2 separate regions of the Homo sapiens genome follow, and region 1 is linked to region 2. Evidence: promoter capture Hi-C in 16 types of primary human blood cells and fetal thymus (Javierre and others, 2016). All regions are on one chromosome and are shown on one strand. The core of a region is centred on a gene start or on the middle of the fragment in contact, and the rest is flanking DNA. Distances in the headings are between cores, read along the strand shown. Region 1 has its middle 6.8 kb from the start of SCD. Region 2 holds the start of CWF19L1 (CWF19 like cell cycle control factor 1).

Region 1 (3,449 bases), core at 36-2,535, 73 kb before region 2:
CATTCTGAGCAAGCCATCTAGGATGAACACATGGAGAGGAAAAGCAAACACAGGCCTAGGGCCTCCAACAACAAATAAACAAGCTGAAGGGAAAGTCTCTCTTGCCCTGACTCAGCTTCTGAGCCAAAGTAAAGAGAGAAGAGCAGCTTGCCCCCGCGTTTTTTCTTTCTTTCTTTCTTTTTTTTCTTTTTGAGACGGAGTCTTGCTCTGTTGTCAGGTTGGAGTGCAGTGGTACAGTCTTGGCTCACTGCAACTTCTGCCTCCCAGAATCAAGCAATTCTCCTGCCTCAGCCTCCCAAGTAGCTGGGATTACAGGTGCATGCCACCCCTCCTGGCTAACTTTTGTATTTTTAGTAGAGATGGGGTTTCACCATACTGGCCAGGCCAGTCTCGAACTCCTGACCTCGTGATCTACCCGCCTCAGCCCCCCAAAGTGTTGGGATTACAGGCATGAGCCACCGTGCCCGGCTCCTGTGTTGCCTTCCTGGTCGTAGAGAGGTAAATCCCCATTTGCTTCCTGCAGTTGCTAAGAGTGCTCCCAGGAAGGTCACACTCTCTTCCAGAGTTCTGAACCCATGCCTCTCTCCCTGCTGTAGGTGAAAGGAACAGGCAGGCCCTGGCCATTCCTGGCCCTTCACCCCTTTTGCTTCTCTCCTCCCAACTGCCCCTCCCAAGCTGCTGCTTCCCCTACAAGGGAACTGTTTCCTGAGTCCTTCTAGCCTCGTGCCCCAGCCAGCCATCTCTCTCCTGGCCTTCCCTTTGCCTGACAGTAACCTCTCCCACAGCTGATGTCACCCTGGCTTTGCACTGACACAGCAGCTGAGCTGGGCACAGCAGGGCTGCGAGGTCCAGAGGGCAGCTGGCTATGTCTGAGGCCAAGCTTCCCTCAGTGCTCGCCCAGGGCTTTTCCTCAGCCAAGAGCCTGCTTCTCTCCCATTCTGTGCCTCTAAGCCAACGTAGCCACATGGGGATAGAGTGTTGACTGAGCCTCCCCTGTGCCCAGCGGAAAGTCAATTCTCTGCTGTGTGGGGGAGAATGGAGCCAAAGTTCTGCTCCCACCCCTGGGGAGCTCACAGATTTCTAAGAGAAACAGGACAAAGCACAATAGCAAACTGGGCAGGCTAGCATCTGATGAAGGCAGAGTGTAAACATACTATATTAAACAGGGTCGGAGTTCAGGGAAGAGAGAGGGGCGCCCTTCCTAAGAGGTGCCCCTAGAATCGGGTAGGGGAAGAGAATGGGCTGGTGACAGAGTCATTTAGTGTTTTTTTAAAATTTATTTTTATTTATTTAAGCATCTATTTATGTGCACTGTGCTAGGTGCTTTGATAATCTACTAATATTTACCCACATATTTACCTGTATTTTGCAAGGCTCAGAAAAGTTGTACCAGCCTGGGAGCACTGAGGTGGGGGATGTGATGGGGATTTGTCTGTACCTAACATCTGCTAGGTGCGTACTAGGTACTTCATATGTTTTGTCTAGTAACTCATTCTTTCCAGCCACAGAACAAACATGCTGAGCAGAAAGTCAGAAGGACACTTGCTGGGCGCTGCTTCTCCCCTGCCCTGCCACCACTCACCACTTCCCCCGTGATCACATTCCCTGCTGCATAAACCCTAGTACCTAGGAGGCCTGGCCTCTGGGCAAGTTACATTCTGGAAGGCTCCCCAGGTCGGCTAAAAGCTTGATCTTTCTACTCCAGCCCCCAACTCCACCTTTCTTCCCCATCTCTCCCTACCCAAGAGAGAAAGGGAAAATCCCATGCTAGCCCTCAGCTTTACCTTCAGCATCTAAGGTGTAAATTAATGTAATCAAGGTGAATTTCCATGCTGTTATTCTGCTCCTCCCACACCCGGGGTTGGCTGGATTCCCTTTTAAAGGCCAGAGTTATTCCCTTCTCATGTCCTAAGGGACTCTGGATTTGCAATGTCATCTGGCCCAGATACGTTCTTGCAGAATATTTGGTGTCCCCATGTCCTCCTTTCAGGCAGCAGCCCAGAAAGCCAACTACCTTTATCCCATCCTTCCTAAGCCTGCAGTTGAGGACCAGCCAGGGAGATGGAGGAGCGAAGCCTGGAGCCCCAGGCACTGCAGGCCCCTCAGCCCTACCTCAGTTCCTGCAGCCTCAACAGCACTGAGAACCCCAAAGGGGGCTGTGGACCCTGTTGTTCCCAAGAACACGCCAAGAACCCATCATTCTTTCCCTCTAACATTCACTTTACCAAACCTCTGCTTTCCCCAGCCAAGTGTCAATGTCTTTTTTCTGATCCCCAAGAGCTGCTTGGCTCTCTGAGCCACCTGGCAAAGCTATGGCTGCCTATCGCATAGTTCAGGGAGGTCTATGAGGCTCAGCTGAGTCTGGGACCTCACCACCAACTCTGGCACCAGAGGATAGATGGTCACTTGAGAAACAGGGACCCCAGGAAAGGGATGGGGCCTGGTGCTGGCCAGCTAGCTTCCAGCCAGGGCAGGCTGACACCTGGGATCCGGGCTGAAGCCACCATTCAGGTAATACCATTACCTCCTTCATGTTTTAGGGCTTCTAAGCAAGAAGCAGCCAAAGGCAGAGGAATGGAAATGTAGGGCTTGCTTGGGAGGGTGAGTGTGCCTGAACGCTTCCAGGAGCAGGCACAGAGTCTCATCCAGGGCATGGGAGGAGCCATGATGGAGGGTGGGGTCATGGGGAGAAGGAAATGAAATTGGGAAGTGAAATCAGCACATGAGGTGAGAGATGAAGGTTCAGTTGTCTCCCTGAGAGGTGGAGAGCAGATGTGGCACTTGATAGAAACCCCGGAGGGCTGAGGCTGTCATTTCTCCAAAGGAAGGCATGGAGGCAGTGCGAATGGGCCTCAGAGACCGCAGACTACAGGTAGGGCGGCTGACCAAGATGTTCACCTGGGTCATACTGCCCCAGGCCTGCTCCCACCTAGAGCAGCCTCACCAGTAGCTAAGTGTGGCAGGGATGTGAAGGCAAGCCCATTCTTGGGGGACACAGAACTCCCGATGGCCTGTTGTGGCTCCCAGAAGGTTTCACTGAACCTCTCTTTGACTATGCCACAGCTGCCCTCCCAATCTTCCTACCCTATCTCCTTCACTCAGGCAGGACTTTCCTCACTCTCTGACAGCGCTGTCAGCCTCACTCAGCTCCCTGTTTTCTCTCATAGATGTTTCCCCCATGAAAAACCACACATAGTTGCCCAGCCTTAGTGTCTGCTTCTCAGAGGAGCCAGTTTAATAGGGGCCATTACTAGACCTCTAGAATGATAAAGCCCTATGGGTTTAGGACCTGTTAGCCGGCCCAGATCTGAACCTGCAGAGTTATCCAGAGGGAAAAAAAAAAAAGGTAAGGTATAGGAAGAAGCTGTGGAGAAAAGTGGTCTCTAGATTGAGGCCCCTCTGAAGGCTCAGCCCCTCCAAACTGGATTATCTGCTCTTCTACATCCAGA
Region 2 (3,709 bases), core at 1,145-3,644:
TGTTAGCCAGGAAGGTCTCGATCTCCTGACCTCGTGATCTGCCCGCCTAATTCTTCTAATCCATAAGCGTGGAATATCTTTCCTTTTTGTGTGTGTGTCCTCTTTCATCAGTATTGTATAGTTTTCCTTGTATAGATCTTTCATTTCTTTAGTTAAATTGATTCCTACGTAGTTTATATTCTTTGTAGCTGTTGTAAATGAGATTGCTTTTTTGATTTCTTTTTCAGATTGTTTACTGTTGGTGCATATAAATGCTACTGATTTTTGTATGTTGATTTGGTATCCTGAAACTTTTACTGAATTCGTTTATTATTTCTAACAGTCTTTTTCGTGGAGTCTTTTGATTTTTCAATACGATGAGTTTTTATGTCTTACTTTTGTATCCTCTTCTGGGAATTATTACCTGCTCATGTTTGGCAAACTTCTACTCTTCTTCAAGATTCAGTCTTGAGTGCTACTCCTGGGCAGTGCTGTATTATCCAAAGAGTAGGAAAAAATGCATGCTTATGTGCCAGCAAAGCAGAGCCACCAGTTATGAGGCAAGAAACAAACAAAAAAGAAGGCTTGTAGGCTGTGGGAAAAGCCAGAACTTTGTAGTTTTGTTTGGTTATTGAGACAGGGCTTGCTGTGTCACCCAGGCTGGAGTGCAGTGGCAAGGTAATAGCTCGCTGAAGCCTCCATCTCCTGGGCTCAAGTGATCTCCCCACCTCAGCCTCTGGAGTACCTGGGAGTACAGGCATACGGCCACCATGCCCAGCTAACTTTTTTTTTTTTCTTTTTAAATTTGTAGTAGAGACGAGGTCTGGCTATGTTGCCCAGGTTGGCCTTGAACTCCTGTTCTCAAGTGAACCTCCCGCCTCAGCCTCCCAAAGTGCTGGGATTACAGGCATGAGCCACTGTGCCTGGCCTGTAGTTCTTCTTTAATCTTATGTTTTATTAATTTTGAATTATTTAGATGCCCTTGATGAGTCTTCCTTTCCCCGCAGTCGTCAGGAACTCTCTCTTGTTTCCATTTCCTTACACACTTGTTTCCTACCACTTGGCCTGAACCCTTCAAAAAAGTCAATATTACAAAAACTAAAACCAAATAGGTAGGAGGGCTTTTGTAGATTAAAATAGAGACAGAACCAAATGCAAGTGTGAAACTTGATTGCATCTGAATCAAAACAAGCCCCAAATATAAAATCAGTTTGTAGGGAAATATGGAGAACTTTAAATATGGATGTATATTAGGTAATATTATTGAATAATTAATGTTAATTTTCTTAGCTGTGTTAATAGTATTACGGTTATGTAGGAGGATATCCTAATCTTAGGAGATAAATGGAGATGTATTCCTGTTGTCCGCACTTTATTTTATTTTATTTTTTGACACGGAGTCTCGCTCTGTCGCCCAGGCTGGAGTGAAGTGGCGCGATCTCGGCTCACTGCAACTTCCTCCTCCTGGGTTCAAGCGATTCCCCTGCCTCAGCCTCCCGAGTAACTGGGACTGCAGGTGCGTGCCACCACGCCCGGCTAATTTTTTGTATTTTTAGTAGAGAGGGGGTTTCACCGTGTTAGCCAGGATGGTCTGGATCTCCCAAAGTGCTGGGATTACAGGCGTGAGCCACTGCGCCCGGCCTGTACTTTACTTTCAAATGATTGAGTGAGAATGGAAGGGCTTGGGCACTTTGAGAGAAAGAGAACACAAGCAAATTTGCCAACATGCTGAGACTTACTGAATCAAGGTAATAGCCATTATTCTTTTAACTTTTTTTTTTTTAATTTGAGACGGAGTTTCGCTCTTGTTGTCCAGGCTGGAGTGCAATGGCGCGATCTTGACTCACTGCAACCCCCGCCTCCCTGGTTGAAGCAATTCTCCACCATGCCCGGCTAATTTTTGTATTTTTAGAAGAGACGGGGTTTCACCATGTTGCCCAGGCTGGTCTTGAACGCCCGACCTCAAGTGATCCGCCCGCCTCAGCCTTCCAAAGTGCTGGGATTATAGGCGTGAGCGTCCACGCCCGGCCTCTTAACTTTTTGATAGGTTAAAAACTTACAAAAAACGTGGATAGAGGGGGTCTGTCTTGCCCACTAGACCGATATGGTTAGGTTAGGTTAGGTTAGGTTAGGTTAGGTTAGAACCCGACATTGTGCTCTGTACTTCCTAGCCATTCATTCGCTTCAAGTGCTCTGAAATTTAATTTAAAAAATCATAGTTGGAATCCTTTCGGTCACTTTCTCTTTCTCCCTTCGTTCCTCCCTTTCCCTCTTGATTCTTCCTTGAGGCGCAAACACCTGAGAGAGGCTTCTGTCCCTCGGCGGTCTCCGTAAGTAAGTGAACCGTTATTGGCTGGAGGGCGCTGACGTCTGATTGTTGCGCGGTCGCATTTTTCCGGGGAGCGCGGATTCGCATTCCCAATTTTAGGTGGCAGTCGCAACCCATACTATTCGGACAGATGGCACAGAAACCGCTGCGCCTGTGAGTGACCGTGAATGGAAGCCTCTCTCCCTGTGTCTCTTTCGTGTGTGTAGGTGACGACACGGGCGGGAGTCTTTCCCATGACGGGAAGGGAGAAGGAAAAGGCGGAGAGACACGGGGCTGCTGGGGAGCTTAGGTGATGTCTTTGCCTGGCCGGGGCTGACCTCTTTTCCTGGCCCTTTTCGCTTCTGAGGGGGTTTCTCTTGGCGACGCTCGTTCGGAGAGGCGGAAGCTCCCAGAGTTAGGCCTCCTCCATCTTAGGGGGCAGTCCTGGCCTCTGACACATCCTTTCCCCTTCGTTTCTCCTGACCCCATTTATTTACTCGCCAAATAGCCATTGGGCCCACTGATGGGCCCTGGGCAGTGGTGGACAGAGTAGATAGGGACCCTTCCCTGGGGCATTTTTTTTTTTTTTTTTTTTTTGCGAGGAGGAGGGGTGGGGGTGGTGGTGAAGAGAGGGCTTCATGCAGCAAGTATTTATTGAAGAACTGCAGTGTGCCGGACGCTGTGCTAGGTGTTGCAACAGATGGAGTTCCTGCTTTAATGGAGCGTAGAGTCTAGAGGAACAGGTACTAAAGAATCCAGATAATGGGCCGGGCGCGGTGGCTGAGGCAGGAGAATCGCTTGAACCCGGGAGGCGGAGGTTGCTGTGAGCCGAGATCGCGCCACTGCACTCCAGCCTGGGCGACAGAACGAGACTCTCAAAACAAAACAAAACAAAACAAAACAAACAAAAAACAATACAAATAATGGCCGGGCGCGGTGGCTCACGCCTGTAATCCTAGCACTTTGGGAGGCTGAGGCGGGCGGATCACTTGCGGTCAGGAGTTCGAGACCAGCCTGGCCAACGTGGTGACACCCCGTCTCTACTAATACAAAAAAAAAAAATTAGCCAGGCGTGGTGGCGCGTGCCTGTAATCCCAGCTACTTGGGAGGCTGAGGCAGGAGAATCGCTTGAACCCGGAGGCGGAGGTTGCACAGTGAGCCGACACTGCACCTCTGCACTCCAGCCTAGGTAACAGAGTGAGACTCCGTCTAAAAAAAAAGGAATTCAGATAAATGTAAAGTTACCATAGTGATAGGGCCAGGCGCAGTGGCTCACGCCTATAATCCCAGCGACTCCGGAGGCCAAGGCAAGAGAATCACTTGAGTCCAGGAATTCAAGACCAGCCTGGGCAATATAGCAAGGCCCCGTTTCTACAAAAAATACAGAAAAAAAAAAAAATTAGCCGGGCGTGGTGGTCCCAG

The links. Contacts are between HindIII fragments. The CHiCAGO score rates a contact against its expected background, and 5 or more counts as called.
Region 1: a contact is called between a fragment that was not itself captured here and the fragment with the promoter of CWF19L1 in region 2, in 2 of 17 cell types (M0 macrophages and M1 macrophages). The highest score is 6.0, in M0 macrophages.

What each region holds. Positions count from the first base shown.
Region 1 is chr10:100,338,684-100,342,132 of GRCh38, reverse strand. No RefSeq gene overlaps it. Among named protein-coding and RNA genes, the nearest start is that of SCD, 6.8 kb to the left of the region's middle. RefSeq lists an enhancer at 2,648-2,717. The HindIII fragment of the contact is 806 bases long and covers 883-1,688 here.
Region 2 is chr10:100,266,323-100,270,031 of GRCh38, reverse strand. CWF19L1 (CWF19 like cell cycle control factor 1) reads left to right here and starts at 2,394. Exons shown (of 14, transcript NM_018294.6): 1 at 2,394-2,461. The coding sequence starts at 2,439. The HindIII fragment of the contact is 22,053 bases long and covers 1-3,709 here.